3 separate regions of the Homo sapiens genome follow, and regions 2 and 3 are each linked to region 1. The links are contacts of gene promoters, found by promoter capture Hi-C in blood cells and fetal thymus (Javierre and others, 2016). All regions are on one chromosome and are shown on one strand. Each heading gives the region's core, a stretch centred on a gene start or on the middle of the fragment in contact. The rest is flanking DNA. Distances are from core to core; before and after follow the strand shown.

Evidence for each region. The method cuts DNA at HindIII sites, captures the fragments that hold promoters and counts their contacts. A CHiCAGO score of 5 or more calls a contact.
Region 2: a fragment that was not itself captured here is called in contact with the fragment with the promoter of CLEC12B in region 1 in 4 of 17 cell types (megakaryocytes, monocytes, M0 macrophages and 1 more); the score reaches 5.5 in megakaryocytes.
Region 3: a fragment that was not itself captured here is called in contact with the fragment with the promoter of CLEC12B in region 1 in 7 of 17 cell types (M0 macrophages, neutrophils, monocytes and 4 more); the score reaches 9.8 in M0 macrophages.

What each region holds. Positions count from the first base shown.
Region 1 is chr12:10,008,733-10,013,613 of GRCh38, reverse strand. It overlaps CLEC12B (C-type lectin domain family 12 member B), which reads right to left and starts at 2,987. Exons shown (of 6, transcript NM_001129998.3): 1 at 2,764-2,987; 2 at 731-829. The coding sequence starts at 2,854. The HindIII fragment of the contact is 2,412 bases long and covers 1,353-3,764 here.
Region 2 is chr12:9,797,414-9,802,294 of GRCh38, reverse strand. It overlaps a transcript of KLRF1 not described here. Among named protein-coding and RNA genes, the nearest start is that of KLRF1, 28 kb to the left of the region's middle. RefSeq lists an enhancer at 4,142-4,241. The HindIII fragment of the contact is 409 bases long and covers 2,765-3,173 here.
Region 3 is chr12:10,147,972-10,152,852 of GRCh38, reverse strand. No RefSeq gene overlaps it. Among named protein-coding and RNA genes, the nearest start is that of CLEC7A, 20 kb to the right of the region's middle. The HindIII fragment of the contact is 1,645 bases long and covers 1,091-2,735 here.

The DNA of each region.
Region 1 (4,881 bases), core at 1,738-4,237:
CATGCCAATTCACTACTCTGTATACCATATACTTAACAACCCTATAAAGTTTGTATTCTCAGGATGTTTTTCTCATTACTCAAGAACTCCCTACCATGTTCATCCCCAACTTCCCGAGGATGGGTCAGAATCAATAGAATGTTCCTTTGTGGCTGTGGTGCTTGAGAGTGGAGCTTCCATTGTCATGTGGAGATGGTTCAACTCTCTTACTTGGTAAGGTGTATCAGGCCACTCTTCCTCTTTGTTTATATGTCTTTCTCATTCATAGAAATCAGGCTGCTGCTGCTACTTGGAAGATTTCTCTCCACTAGAGAAGTTTCATGTAAGCAGACTGAACCTAGTCTAGTGTTAAGTCTTTCAGGTAAATAAAAATAGCAAGCACTTCCTTCAATACATATTTCTTGACTTTATTTCTCAGCATTGGAATGATAAGTGAATGTGTGTCTAGGCAGAAAAGAGGCTCTTTATTCTAATGAATAACTGGAAACAAAGAGTCTTTGTCTAAGTCCAGTTTAGCTTATCAAGATAAAACAATGAATTTAGAACCAAATCCTGATAATGTCTTTTGCCGGTTTTTTGGGAAGATATGACGAATAGGAGAGATATGAGACAGCAGAAAAGTATCAGACGATTCAGGATGCTAGGACCCATCTACAATCCAAGCTGAAAGTACATGGTTTACAATATGTTTTCTAGTTGCCTTTGTTGGGTTTGATGCTGATATACTTACACATCATCCCCAATGTCACCAGCCCAATCAGCAACATCAGGCAAAGAGTTACCAGACCCAGAGCAGCATGACGCCAAATGGGAGATGGAGCTGGATGCCCTGGAGAAAGCCAAAAGAGCAATCAGCACACAGAACTGCTTTGTGCTTGTTTCACTTTGGTTTGTTTATTTCTCCCACTTAGGGAGCTTCCCGATACTAACGTTTCTTTCTTGCTTCTTTAATGCCCTCATTTAGAAAATACCTAATATGAAGTGCAATGAGGGTGCCATCCTTGTTTCCCCTCCATTTCTCCACCGCTCTCCTTCACTTTAAGAGGAAGCTTCGTTGGGGGAGGGGGGAGGCATACCTTTAGGAGATATACCTAATGCTAAATGACGAGTTAATGGGTGCAGCACACCAGCATGGCACATGTATACATATGTAACTAACCTGCACATTGTGCACATGTACCCTAAAACTTAAAGTATAATAATAATAAAATAAAAAGGAAGCTTCTCCTAATTTCAAGGTTTTTGTTTTACATCATTGCCCACTTTTCTTCCTCAAGTTTATTGAATTCATAAATGAGAGATCTAAAAACTGCTTTTCTGGATGATGCTGACAGTAGGAGACACCTCAAGCTTTTGAGCTCAAAAGTCTCTATAAGGCACATGTTCTATCTGCCTTGTAAAAGTGGATTCGACTTTTTAAAGTATCTTTTACCTGTTAACAATAACTTATCTATTATTCATGCTATTTATCACCTAATAAATAATGAATGAATACTGAATGAAAGAAGGAAAGAATGTGCAGTCTAACCTACAAACAGCAGAATAGACCAGAAAGCCGTTAGCATCCTAGTCATTGTTGTTGTTTAAAATATCAATGGTTGTCATGTTTTCCTTAGCTTCATATCCCTTGATTTAGGTCCAAATAACATCTAGCGCAATGTTTTAGATACAGCATGACAGACTCTAGGTACACTGTGATATGCACCATATCCACACCTCCTTTTTCCTCACAGGTTAGAATTAGAATTAAAAAGTAAAACAAAACAAGGCAAAAATGTGTAACCACATTTATTAGACATATGCAAAGTCTATTCCCATCGGCTTTTTGTAAATATCCTTCCCTCAAATGTCATGCACCACACAAAATGTAAAGATAAATCTAGAGGGCAGGAGAAAGTAGTTCAGATGACTGACATGATTCAGGAGAACCTGGATAGTTAACATATCTGAAAATAAGAGATGTGGTCTTATATATTAAATCAGAGTCTTGACCATGGAGACTGCTATTTTTCCAATTAGGCATAAGAGAATGAGCTGAAGACCAGCACTGAGACTGGGCTTCCCCACATAGCAGTTGTGTGAGCTTGCTTAAATTATCTAATTTCTCTCACCCTCAGTTTTTTCATCTATGTAATGGAGAAAATACTAATATTCGAATATTATTGTGGATTTTCATTACAATTATATCTGTATATAATGTACATAAAATACTACCCAGATACTATTATTACTGGTTCAACATTACAAATTATGCTCGGATTTCAACTACCCTAAAATTTGAAAAAATACTGACAAAAGAAAAATTAGCTCTGATCTATTTCTAATCCACTCACTCATCTTCCAGTTTTCTCTTAAGTAACTTACATCATCTAAAAGAAAAACGTCCTCTACCTTCTCTATTTTAGAAGCCTCCAATCTGGTTTCTGAAAGAATATCCTCCTGGCATCTCTAACAAGGTATAAATATCAAGGATTATATTCATAAGAAGAAATCTCTAATTCCCCAAGCTCAATTTCTGGCATGTGCAGTCAGAATTTCTCTGACTGTGTGATATCACACAACTTTAAAGAGGTTCTGAAAGCCACATATTTTCACTTCAACCTTGGGAACACTCACTTTTCTAATACATTCCACAACTATTTGTCCCCATTTTGGAGATTTCACAGCACATGTCTTTAACGCCAGTATTAAAGCTGGCACCTCAAAGCATTTAACACCTGTCCACTCCCCCAAGGACACAGCTGGTCTTCTCTGAACTCCTACCTCTTTTTCTTAGGTTATTTCCATCTCGGTTATTCCTTGCTCCAGCAGAATCCTGAAATGTGAGTGTCGCGTAGGTCACTTCTTCAGACATTGTAGAAGAAAACGCTACTTTAAATTATCTAATTAATGTTTCAATATCTTGAGGCCTGGGAACAGCATGTGTTTTTCAAGGCTGGGAGCTTTGATGTAGTCACTCAGCTGACCCAGACACACTCTACTGCCCCTCTGTAAGAGAAGAATGACAATTTGTTTCTCTACAGAGAAAGTGAGAAAAGCCAAATATTCTCCTTAGAGATATTCTCATTAGAATGTTACAGATCTCAAACTGTCTGCTCTGTCAGAACTGTTTCTTGCTGTGCAGCAAAGAAGGGGTGCTTGAGGCAGAGCAGGAGGAACATGAGGGAATTCCCATGATCCTCGGGGTAGAGGATGCTCTGAATGTTTCAGAAAAGAGTCAGGTTGTCTTCTTTACATCTATCTAAGGCTAGCTAATCTGCCTGGAGACATTGGTTCTAGTTTATTCTCAGCCACATTAGATATTAAGCAGAGAGACACACATTAAGACAGAAAGAGCTGTGCCACACACCTGGCTGCTATTATAGAAAATTCAAGCGTGTGTGTGTGTGTGTGTGTGTGTGTGTGTGTGTGTGAGAGAGAGACAGAGAGAGACAGAGAGAGAGAGACAGAGAGAGAGAGACATGGTGTTGGTAATGGAGCATGGAGAAGAAACTGATAGCTACTTAGCTACTTAACGTGAGTATGAATGGGAGTGCCCTCTTCTGGCATGGTTGGGAAAGTTCCTAACAGAACAACAACCATGGGATAATCCTGCAGACAGCAAGGAATACACAGGACAAGATTTTAAAAAGATAACTACCGGAAGTTAATACATCTGTGGTAATTTGTTACAGCAGCAATATGTAGTTAATACAGAACCCAGGAAAATATGGGGGGGGAGCGCTATATATGAGGGACGAAATTAAGGAATCTCCTCTAAAGCTTTCCTTTGGGGAGAGGCAGAATATTAGATAACTGTACTTAGGGGAAGGATTGGGTATGAGTTTTGTGGTTTCAGATGAGTGGGGAGTGATCTAAAACTTCCAAGGTTCATATCTGTGTGGAGATTATCTTAGTCAAAGGTGTCCAGCGTGAGGTGCACTCACCCCACAGCTGTGAAGCAGATGCAGAAAGGCAATGTAAAAACTTTCTCTTTAGGAACGCTGTGCATGATCTCTAAACACCTAAATATACATATGTTACTTGTTCATGTTTTTTGTTTTTTTTTTTTTCAAATTGATGAAATAATCAAAAAAATGTTTGGAGGCTCTAAGTCATATATCAATAAAACTCCACTATCAAAAATATTGAAACAAATAATAAATCTATGCTTATGTTTACTATTCTAGTTGAATTCAGAAAAGGCAGAGACCATTGACATGAGGACCAGTTTAAATAGATGATTACAAAAATAAGAAATTAAGAATGGTTTTCTATCTCTGTTCTGGTCCGTGTCCGGAGTTGGTTCCTGCCGGTGGGTTCCTGGTCTCGCTGACTTCAAAAATGAAGCCGCGGACCTTTGCGGTGAGGGTTACACCTCTTAAAGATGGCACGGACCCAAAGACTGAGTGGTAGCAAGGTTTATTGTGAAGAGCAGGATGACAAACCTTCCACAGCATGGAAGGGGTCCCAAGCGGGTTGCTGCTGCTGGCTGGGGTGGCTAGCTTTTATTTCCTTACTGTCCCCTCCATGTTCCGTTTCTGTCGTATCAGACTGACCTTTTTTCAATCCTCACCGCAATTGGCTACTTTTAGAATCCTGCTGATTGGTGCGTTTTACAGAGCGCTGATCGGTGCGTTTTACGTGGCACTGATTGGTGCGTTTTACAATCCTCTTGTAAGACAGGAAAGTTCCCTGAGTCCCCACTCGATTCAGGAAGTCTGGCTGGCCTCACGTCTCATGACTTTCACCAGATTTTGCAAAAACTGGGTTTTCATCCTCATTTCCTTAATTCTTTCACATACCTTAAAGCTTCCTAACAAAGTATTAACTTCTCACTATCCATGAAATGATGCTTAGCTTGAACAATGATGAAGAATGTCACCTGATTCCTAATTATTT
Region 2 (4,881 bases), core at 1,720-4,219, 210 kb after region 1:
TGAAGGGATGTTGAATTTTATCAAAGGCCTTTTCTGCATCTATTGAGATAATCATATGATTTTTGTCATTGGTTCTGTTTATGTGACGGATTACATTTATTGATTTGTATATGTTGAACTAGCCTTGTATCCCAGGGATGAAGCCAACTTGATTGTGATGGATAAGCTTTTTGATGTGCTGCTGGATTCAGTTTGCCAGTATGATATTGAGGATTTTTGCATTGATGTTCATCAGGGATATTGACCTGAGGTTTTCTTTTTTTGTTGTGTCTCTGCCAGATTTTGGTATCGGGATGATTCTGGCCTCAGAAAACACAAACCATAAAAATCCTAAAAGAAAACCTAAGCAATACCATTCAGAGCATAGGTATGGGCAAAGACTTCATGATGAAAATGCTAAAAGCAATTGCAACAAAAGCCAAAATTGACAAATGGGATCTAATTAAACTAAAGAGCTTCTGCACAGCAAAGTAAACTATCCTCAGAGTGAACAGGCAACCTACAGAATGGGAGACAATATTTGCAATCTACCCATCTGATAAAGGTCTAATATCCATAATCTAAAAGGAACTTAAACAAATTTACAAGAACGAAACAAACAATCCCATTCAAAAAGTGGGCAAAGGATATGAACAGACACTTCTCAAAAGAAGACATTATGTGGCCAACAAACATATGAAAAAAAGCTCAACATCACTTGTCATTAGAGAAATGCAAATCAAAACCACAATGAGATACCATCTCACACCATTCAGAATGGCGATTATTAAAAAGTCAAGAAACTATAGATGCTGGTGAGGCTGTGGAGATAGTGGAATGCTTTTACACTCTTGGTGGGAATGTAAATTTGTTCTACCATTGTAGAAGACAGTGTGGTGATTCCTCAAGGATCTAGTACCAGAAATACCATTTGACCCAGCAATCCCATTACTGGGTATATACCCAAAGGAGCATAAATCATTCTACTATAAAGACACATGCAGACATATGTCTATTGCAGCACCATTCACAATAGCAAAGATATGGAACCAACCCAAATGCCCATCAATGATAGACTGGATAAAGAAAATGTGGTACATATACACCATGGAATACTATGCAGCCATAAAAAAGAATGAGATCATGTCCTTTTCAGGGACATGAATGAAGCTGGAAGCCATCATCCTCAGCAAACTAACACAGGAACAGAAAACCAAACACCGCATGCTCTCACTCATCAGTGGGAGTTAAACAATGAGAACACATGGACACAGGGAGGGGAACAACACACACTAGTGCCAGTCAGGGGATGGGGGGAAGGGGAGGGAGAGCATTAGGACAAATAGCTAATGCATGTGGGGCTTAAAACCTAGATAGTGGGTTGATAGGTGCAGCAATCCACCATGGCACACGTATACCTATGTAACAAACCTACATGTTCTGCACTTGTATCCTGGAACTTAAAAATAAATGAATAAAATTTTTTAAAAAATGAAAAGATAAGCCACAGACCAAAAGAAAATACTTAACAAAAGACATATCAGATAAAGGACTGTAATCCAAAATAGATAAATAACTCTTAAAGCTCAACAATAAGAAAATGAATTACCTGATTAAAAAATGGGCCAAAGATCTGAACAGATACCTTGTTAAGAAGATATACAAATGGAAAATAACCTTATTAAAATATGATCAATATCATATGTCATTAGGTAATTTCACATTAAAACATGCTATTACAGAAAAACCAATTACTATATGTTCTCACTTATAAGTGGGAGTTAAGTTATGAGTATACAAAGGCGCACAGAGTGATATAATGGACTTTGGAGACTCAGAAGGGGAAGAATAGGAGGGGTTTTGGAATAAAAAACTACATATTGGGTAAAGAGTGCACTACTTGGGTGATTGATGAGTGTAATAAAATCTCAGAATTCACCACTATATAAATTCATCCATGTGACCAAAAATCACTTGTACTCCAAAAGCTATTGAAATTTAAAATTTTCTTTGAAAACATTTACACACCAATTAGAAATGTCAAAATCCAAAATATGAACAACACCAAATGCTGATAAAGATGTGGAGCAATAGGACTTTCATTCTTTGCTGATTGAAATGCAAAATGGCACAGCCACTTGGAAAACATGTTGACAGTTTCTTAGAAAACTAAACACATTCTTACCATATAATCCAGTAATCCCACTTCTTGGTCTTTATCCAAATGAGTCGACAACTTATGTCCACACAAAAGCCTGCTCATGAATGTTTACAGCAGCTTTATTCATAATTGCCAAACCTTGGAAGAAACCAAGATGTCTTTCAGTAGGTGAATGGATAAACTGTGGTACATTCAGACAATGGAACATTCTTCATCACTAAAATGAAATGGGCTATCAAGCTATGAAAAGGCATGGAAGACCCTTAAAATGCGTAGTTTAAATAATTAAATAAATAAAAGATTTAAATAAAATACAAGATTTAAATAAAAAGTGTGCATATTAAAAATACATGAGCTGCAAAAAATATATTCTTGAGGCACAAAACTATAAAATATCACATAATCACTTTTTTAAATAATTATGGGGCCCTTTTCTTATAGATGTTTGTAATGTGTTTGCTTACATGCCTTTAATGGATATGTGCTCTGAATTTATATATTCATTGTCTAATTATTTTAAAAGTTAATATTAAATGCCTATACATTATAAATTAATAAATCAAGAACTTATTGCTTGTCAGCTAATGTGCTAGATACTGGAGAATAAAGATATTAGTAAAAGCTTCAACTGCCTCAAAGGATTTTATATTTACAATACAGGCTAAGCTCAAATATAGAGAAAAAGTGTATGATGGCAAGGCTTAGAAATCTCTAGAACTACATCTGATAGAACAGAAAGGGAACAAATTGACAAGACAAAGGTGGATATTAAGATACTTTTTCTGATTGAGCATTGGTAGTGGTAATTCAAACATGAAGTGATTTCTACATGTATTCTACATGCATTATATCATTAGAACCTCTTATCACACTTTAGTTGCAGCTTAGATTGTTAACCTTGTTTGAAAACGAAGAATAGAAACATAAGAAGAATCATATTATTCTCCAAAGTTACCTAGAGATAGTAAAATTCTGGGGCTAGGACTTAGAGGCCTCAAATCTGACTTCATGGAGCTGTTTCTCCACACAAGCTTTACCTAGACTAATGAGTAGTACAATCGGTTCTATACTCTCTTAAAACCTTAGTCCTTCAACAGCTGGAAACACACTGCTTTGCAAATCACTTAAATATCTAGTTAAATTAGTTTTTTTTTTCTTTTTATGCAAACAATGACCCCTGAAAGGAAAAAAAAAAACACCCTGGTACTTCTATGGGATCAAAAAATAGATATTATATAATAAAATACAACAGATGATATAATTTCTGTGATTTCACATCATACAAAGTTGAAACATATATGAAAAATATATTAAAACCATGTGATTGAACATTCACATAAAGTACAAAAGACCAAAGTTTAGAAAATAAACTGCAAAATCCTCTGTTTCTGCTCATATATCTAAGCCTTTTCTCTTGGTCATAAACACTACATAGATAGAGAAAGCAGCTTTGCTCTTAATAATACCTGAGCATTGAAGACCGTTTTCCCCAAAATAGCTTCTACCATACACGCATTCATTCTTTCACTCATTCACTCACTCAATATCAATTTAATACCTAGAATGTTTCAGATATTGAAAGAACAATAACTTAAGATCAATGATTTATAATTGAGAAAGGAAATGTCAAATATCGGTGATGGAGGTTATTCTTACCTAATTTCTATTTTTTAATTTATATACCATTAATACTTTATGAAACACATGAAATAGAAGAGTCTATAACTTTTATTTGTGTATTTCTAACATCTGTCAGTTTCTGGCCCACTTGTTTGTCTAATAAGTGTTTGACTAATGATCAAATGGAAAATAGAATCTGGTGAAGGTGTCCAAACGCAGAAAGGAAGGTGTTTACAGGGAGGACAATATGAGAGCCCAGCACTTTACCTCCTGACCACACAGTAGCAGGTGTTTCCTTAAGGCCTCACACCACCACTAGAGAGCAACAGTTCACAAGCGAACTGAAGGTCTACGTGCAAGAGCCCTTGCAGGAATGCAGAAGAACAGGAAGGCTGTGAGGTGTAGGCCTTGTGTCAGAAATTGGTCTGAGGAGCTCATTTACTCCAAGGCAGTTATTTGAAACACAAAATCAAGTGATGTGCTTTAATTCGCTGGCCCTGTGCCCTCTATTATTTAACCCGATTCTTTCTTCGAGTCATACAAAACAATTACTCTAATTATTTTTTTAAAATATTTTTAAGCATCTGTCCTGATCTGGTCATTGTGCTCAGTATTGCCACACTGCCTATTATTATGTGCCTGCATTCACCATCTGTTATACAGCAGGAATAATGAATAGTTTCATCTTTTAAATTTTAGTTTTTAGGATTATCTCCCCCTCCAAAAACATTGAAATGATTACAATTATATAAATTAAAGTAATTTTGATTTAGGATATCCCCCTACTATTAAATACCAAATAAGACAACTGAATATGCATTTCAAGTTTATGAATGCAAATAAACATATATGTTAATGATTAGGAACCCTCTTGTATTAGAGTCAATTGCCCTCAAGCTGGTAAAGAAATTAGAGTTTCTTTTTCCCAGCTTTATTATATAAAAAGTTTATATGCCACAAATAGGCTAATTTGATTGCTTTATAAACATATTGCCTCTTTAAAATACAAAGTAAAATAACTTGCAAAAGGAACTTGAAATCTGTCAATGTCAATCTGTTCTAGCACAATCTATCCCAAATCTTCAATAGGCCTGAAAACTCCAACATTACTGTAAATTCAT
Region 3 (4,881 bases), core at 664-3,163, 140 kb before region 1:
AGGATTACAGGCGAACACAACCAGGCCTGGCTAATTGTTTGTATTTTTTGGTAGAGACAGGGTTTCGCCATGTTGGCCAGGCTGGTCTTGAACTCCTGACCTCAAGCGATCCACCTGCCTTGGCCTTCCAAAGTGCTGTGATTACAGGCGTGAACCACCACACCCAGCCTGAAAAAAATAATTTTAAGAACGAACCATACTGAACTTCTGGAATTGACACATTTACTACAAGAATTTCATAATACATTTGGAAGCATTAATAGCAGAATAGACCAAGCTGTGAAGAAATTCAAAGACTGGTTCTTTGAATCAACTCAGTCAGACAAAAATAAAGAAGAAATAATTTTAAAAAAATGGACAAAAGCCCTGAGAAATATGGAATTATATAGAGAGACCAAACCTATAACTCATTGGTATTCCTGAGAGAGGAGAGAGAGTAAGCTATTTGGAAAATATATTTGAGGATACGATCCATGACAATCTCTCCACTCCCACTAGAGATGTTAACATACAAATTTAAGAAATATAAGGCCTGGCGTGTTGTCTCATGCCTGAATCCCAGCATTTGGGAGGCCAAGGTGGGTAGATCACTTGAGGTCAGGAGCTCAAGACCAGCCTGGCCAACATGGCAAACCCGTCTGTACTAAAAATACAAAAATTAGCTGGACATGGTGGTGCATGCCTGTAATCCCAGCTACTTGGGAGGCTGAGGCAGGAGAATCGCTTGAACCTGGGAGGCAGAGGTTGCAGTGAGCCAAGATCGTGCCATTGCCCTCCAGCCTGGGCAACAAGAGTGAAACTCCATCTCAAAAAAAAAAAAAAAAGAAGTACAGATAACCCCCATGAGATACTAGACACAACAAGCATTCCCAAGGCACATAGTTATCAGATTCATCAAGGTTAATGCAAAAGAAAAAATGTAAAGGCATCTAGAGAGAAGGGTCAGGTCGTTTACAAAATGAGGACCATCAGGCTAGTAGCAGACCTCTAAGCAAAAGCCTTATGAGTCAGAAGAGATTGGGGCCTATTTTCAGTGTTCTTAAAGAGAAGGAATTCCAACCAAAAAATTTATGTCCTGATAAACTAAGCTTGACTGGTGAAGGGGAAATAAATTTCTCAGACAAGCAAATGCTTAAGGGAATTTGTTACCACTAGACTAGCCTTACAAGACGTCTTTATAGGAGTGCTGTAAAGATGGAAATGAAAGAATGATACCTGCTATCACAAAAATGCATTTAACCACATAGCCCACCAACAATATAAAGCAACTATGCAATAGAAACTACAAAGTCACCAGCTAAGAACATGATGACAGGATCAATGTCACATATCAGTACTAACTCTAGGCCAGGCACAGTGGCTCATGCCTGCAATCGCAGCACTTTGGGAGGTCGAGGTGGGCGGATCACTTCAGGTCAGGAGTTCACAACCAGCCTGGCCAACATGGTGAAACCCCATCTCTACTAAAAAATACAAAAATTAGCTGAGCATGGTGGTGTCTGCCTGCAGTCCCAGCTTCTCAGGAGGCTGAGGCAGGAGAATCACTTGAACCCAGGAGGCAGAGGTTGCAGTGAGCCAAGATCGTGCCACTGCATTCCAGCCTGGGTGACAGAACAAGATTCTGTCTCAAAAAAAAAAAAAATTATTCTGGTGTGGTGGTGCATGCCTGTAATCCCAGCTACTCGGGGGGCTGAGGCATGAGAATCTCTTGAACCCAGGAGGTGGAGGTCACAGTGAGCTGAGATCGTGCCACTGCACTCCAGCCTGGGTGACACAGTGAGACTCTGTCTCAAAAAAATGAAATAAAATAAAAAATAAAAATACAATCAAACAGGAACTGAATGAAATTGAGTTGCAAAACACCATATGAAAGATCAATGAAACCAAGAACTGGTTCTTTGAAAGAATAATCATGATTGATAGGCCATAAGGTAGGTTAATAAAAAAAAGAAATAAGCACAATCAGAAATTACAAAGATGAGATTACAACAAATTCCTCAGAAATACAAAGGATCCTAAGAGACCATTATGAAAATCTCTATGCAAATTAAAAATCTAGAGGAAATGGATAAATTCCTGGAAACATATAACTTCCCAAGATTGAACCAGGAAGAAAGCAAAAACCTGAACAGACCAATAACAAATTCCAAAATTGAAACAATAATAAGAAATCTACCAACCAACAAAAGTCTTGAACAAGATGGCTTCAGAGCTGAATTATAGCAGATGGACAAAGAAGAAGTAGTACAAATTCTACTGAAATTATTACAAAAAATTGAGGAGAGGGCTCCTCCCTAACTCATTCTATGAAGCCAGTATCATTCGGACAGAACAAAAAAGAAAACTTGAGGCCAACATCCTCAATAAACATAGATGCAAAAATCCTCAGCAAAATACCAGCAAACCAAATCCAGTAGCAGATCAAAAAGTTAATTCACCACAATCAGTTGGGTGCAGTGGCTCATGCCTGTAATTCCAGCACTTTGGGAGTCTGAAACAGGAGTACTGCTTGAGCTCAGGAGCTCGAGACTAGCCTGGGCAACATAGCGAGGCCTGTCTCTAAAAAGAATAAAAATTAATAATACAAAAAAAAGTTAATTAACCACAATGAAGTAGGCTATATCTATGATTCAAGGTTGGTTTGACATATGCAAATCAATATATGTGACTCACCACATAAACAGAATTTAAAATAAAAATTATATGATCCCATCTCAACAGACATGGAAAAAGCTTTCAGTAAAATCCAACCTCTTCTTATGGTTAAAAAAAAAAACCTCAACAAACTAGGCATTAAAGAAAGATAACCTCAAAATAATAAGAGTCGTCTAAGACAAACCCACAGACAACATTATATTGAATGGGCAAAAGCTGGAAAAATTTCCCTTGAGAACTGGAACAAGATAAGGATGTCCACTTTCACCACTCCTATTCAACATAGTACCAAAAATCCTAGCCAGAGCAATCAGGCAAGAGAAAGACTTAAAAGGTATCCAAATAGGAAAAGAAGTCAGACTATCTCCCTTCACTGACAACATGATTCTATACCTAGAAAACTCTAAAGACTTCGCCAGTATGCTCCTAAAACTGATAAATGATGTTAACAAAATTTCAGGATACAAAATCAATGTACACAACTTAGTAGCATTTCTAAACACCAGTAACATTCTAGCTGACAGCCAAGTTAAGAGCATAATCCCACTTATAATAACCACTAATAAAATGATTATTGGGAGTACCACTAAACAAGGAGGTGAAAGATCTCTGCAAGGAGAACTGCAAAACACTGCTGAAAGAAATCAGAGCCAATACAAATAAATGGAAAAACATGTCATGCCCATGGATTGGAAGAATCAATATTGTTAAAATGGCATACTGCCCAAAGCAATGTACAGATTCAATGCTATTACCATCAAATTACAAGTATCATTTTTCACAGAATTAGAAAAAACAATCCTGAGATTCATACAGAACCAAAACAGAGCCTGAATAGTCAAAACAATCCAAAGCAAAAAGAGCAAAACTGGAGGCATCATGTTACCCAACTTCAAACTATACTATAAGGCTACAATAACCCAAAGAGCATGATAGTAGTACAAAAACAGACACATAGACTGAGGGAACAGAATAGAGAACCCAGAAATAAAGTTGCACACCTACAATTATCTGGTCTTTGACAAAGTTGACAAAAACGACCAATAGGAAAGGACTCCCTGTTCAGTAAAAGTGCTGGAATATACTGGCTAGCCATATGCAGAAGATTGAAACTGGTGAAACCCTACCTTTCATCACACATAAAAATTGATTCAAAATGGATTAAAGACTTAAGACCTCAAACTATAAAATTCTAGAAATAAATCGAGGAAATACCCTACTCAACATCAGCTAAGGCAGATAATTTATGGCTAAATCTTTAAAAGCAATTGCAACAAAAACAGTAATCAACAATAGGACCTAATTAAACTAAAGAGGTTTGCATAGCAAAAGAAACTATCAACAGAGAAATTAGACAATCTACAGAATACGAGAAAATGTTAGTAAAGTATGCATCTGACAAAGGTGTAATAATCCAGAATCTATAAGAAATTTAGGCCAGGTGTGGTGGCTCACACCTGTAATCCCAGCAATTTGGGAGGCCAAGGTGGGTGGATCACCTGAGGTCAGAAGTTCGAGACCAACCTGGCCAACATGGTGAAACCCCATCTCTACTAAAAATACAAAAGTTAGCCAGGTGTGGTAGCACGCACCTGTAGTCCCAGCTACTCAGGAGGCTGAGGCAGGAGAATCACTTGAACCTGGGAGGTAGAGACTGCAGTGAGCTGAGATTGCACCATTGCACTCCAGCCTGGGCAACAAAAGCGAAACCCCATCTCAAAAAAAAAAAAAAAAAAAAAAAGAAGCAGCAGCAGCAGCTTAAACAAATCAGCAAGCAATAAACAAATAACCCCATTAAAAAGAGGCAAAGGACATGAACAGACACTTCACAGAAGAGGACATACAAGCGGCCTACAAACATATGAAAAAATGATCATCATCACTAATCATTAGAGAAATGCAAATTAAAACCACAATGAGACACCATCTCTCACCAGTCAGAATGGCTATTATTAGTCATAAAACAACAGATGGTGGCAAGGCTGCAGAGAAAAGAGAATGCTTATACCCTGTTGGTGGGAATGTAAATTAGTTCAGCCACTATAAAAAGCAGTTTGGAGATTTCTGAAAGAACTTAAAACAGAACTATGATTCAATCTGAAAATCTCATTTCTGGATATATATCTGAAGGAAAATAAATCACTCTACCAAAAAGCACGTGCACTCGTATGCTCATCACAGCACTATTCACAATAGCAAAGACATGGAATCAACCTAGGTGTCCAT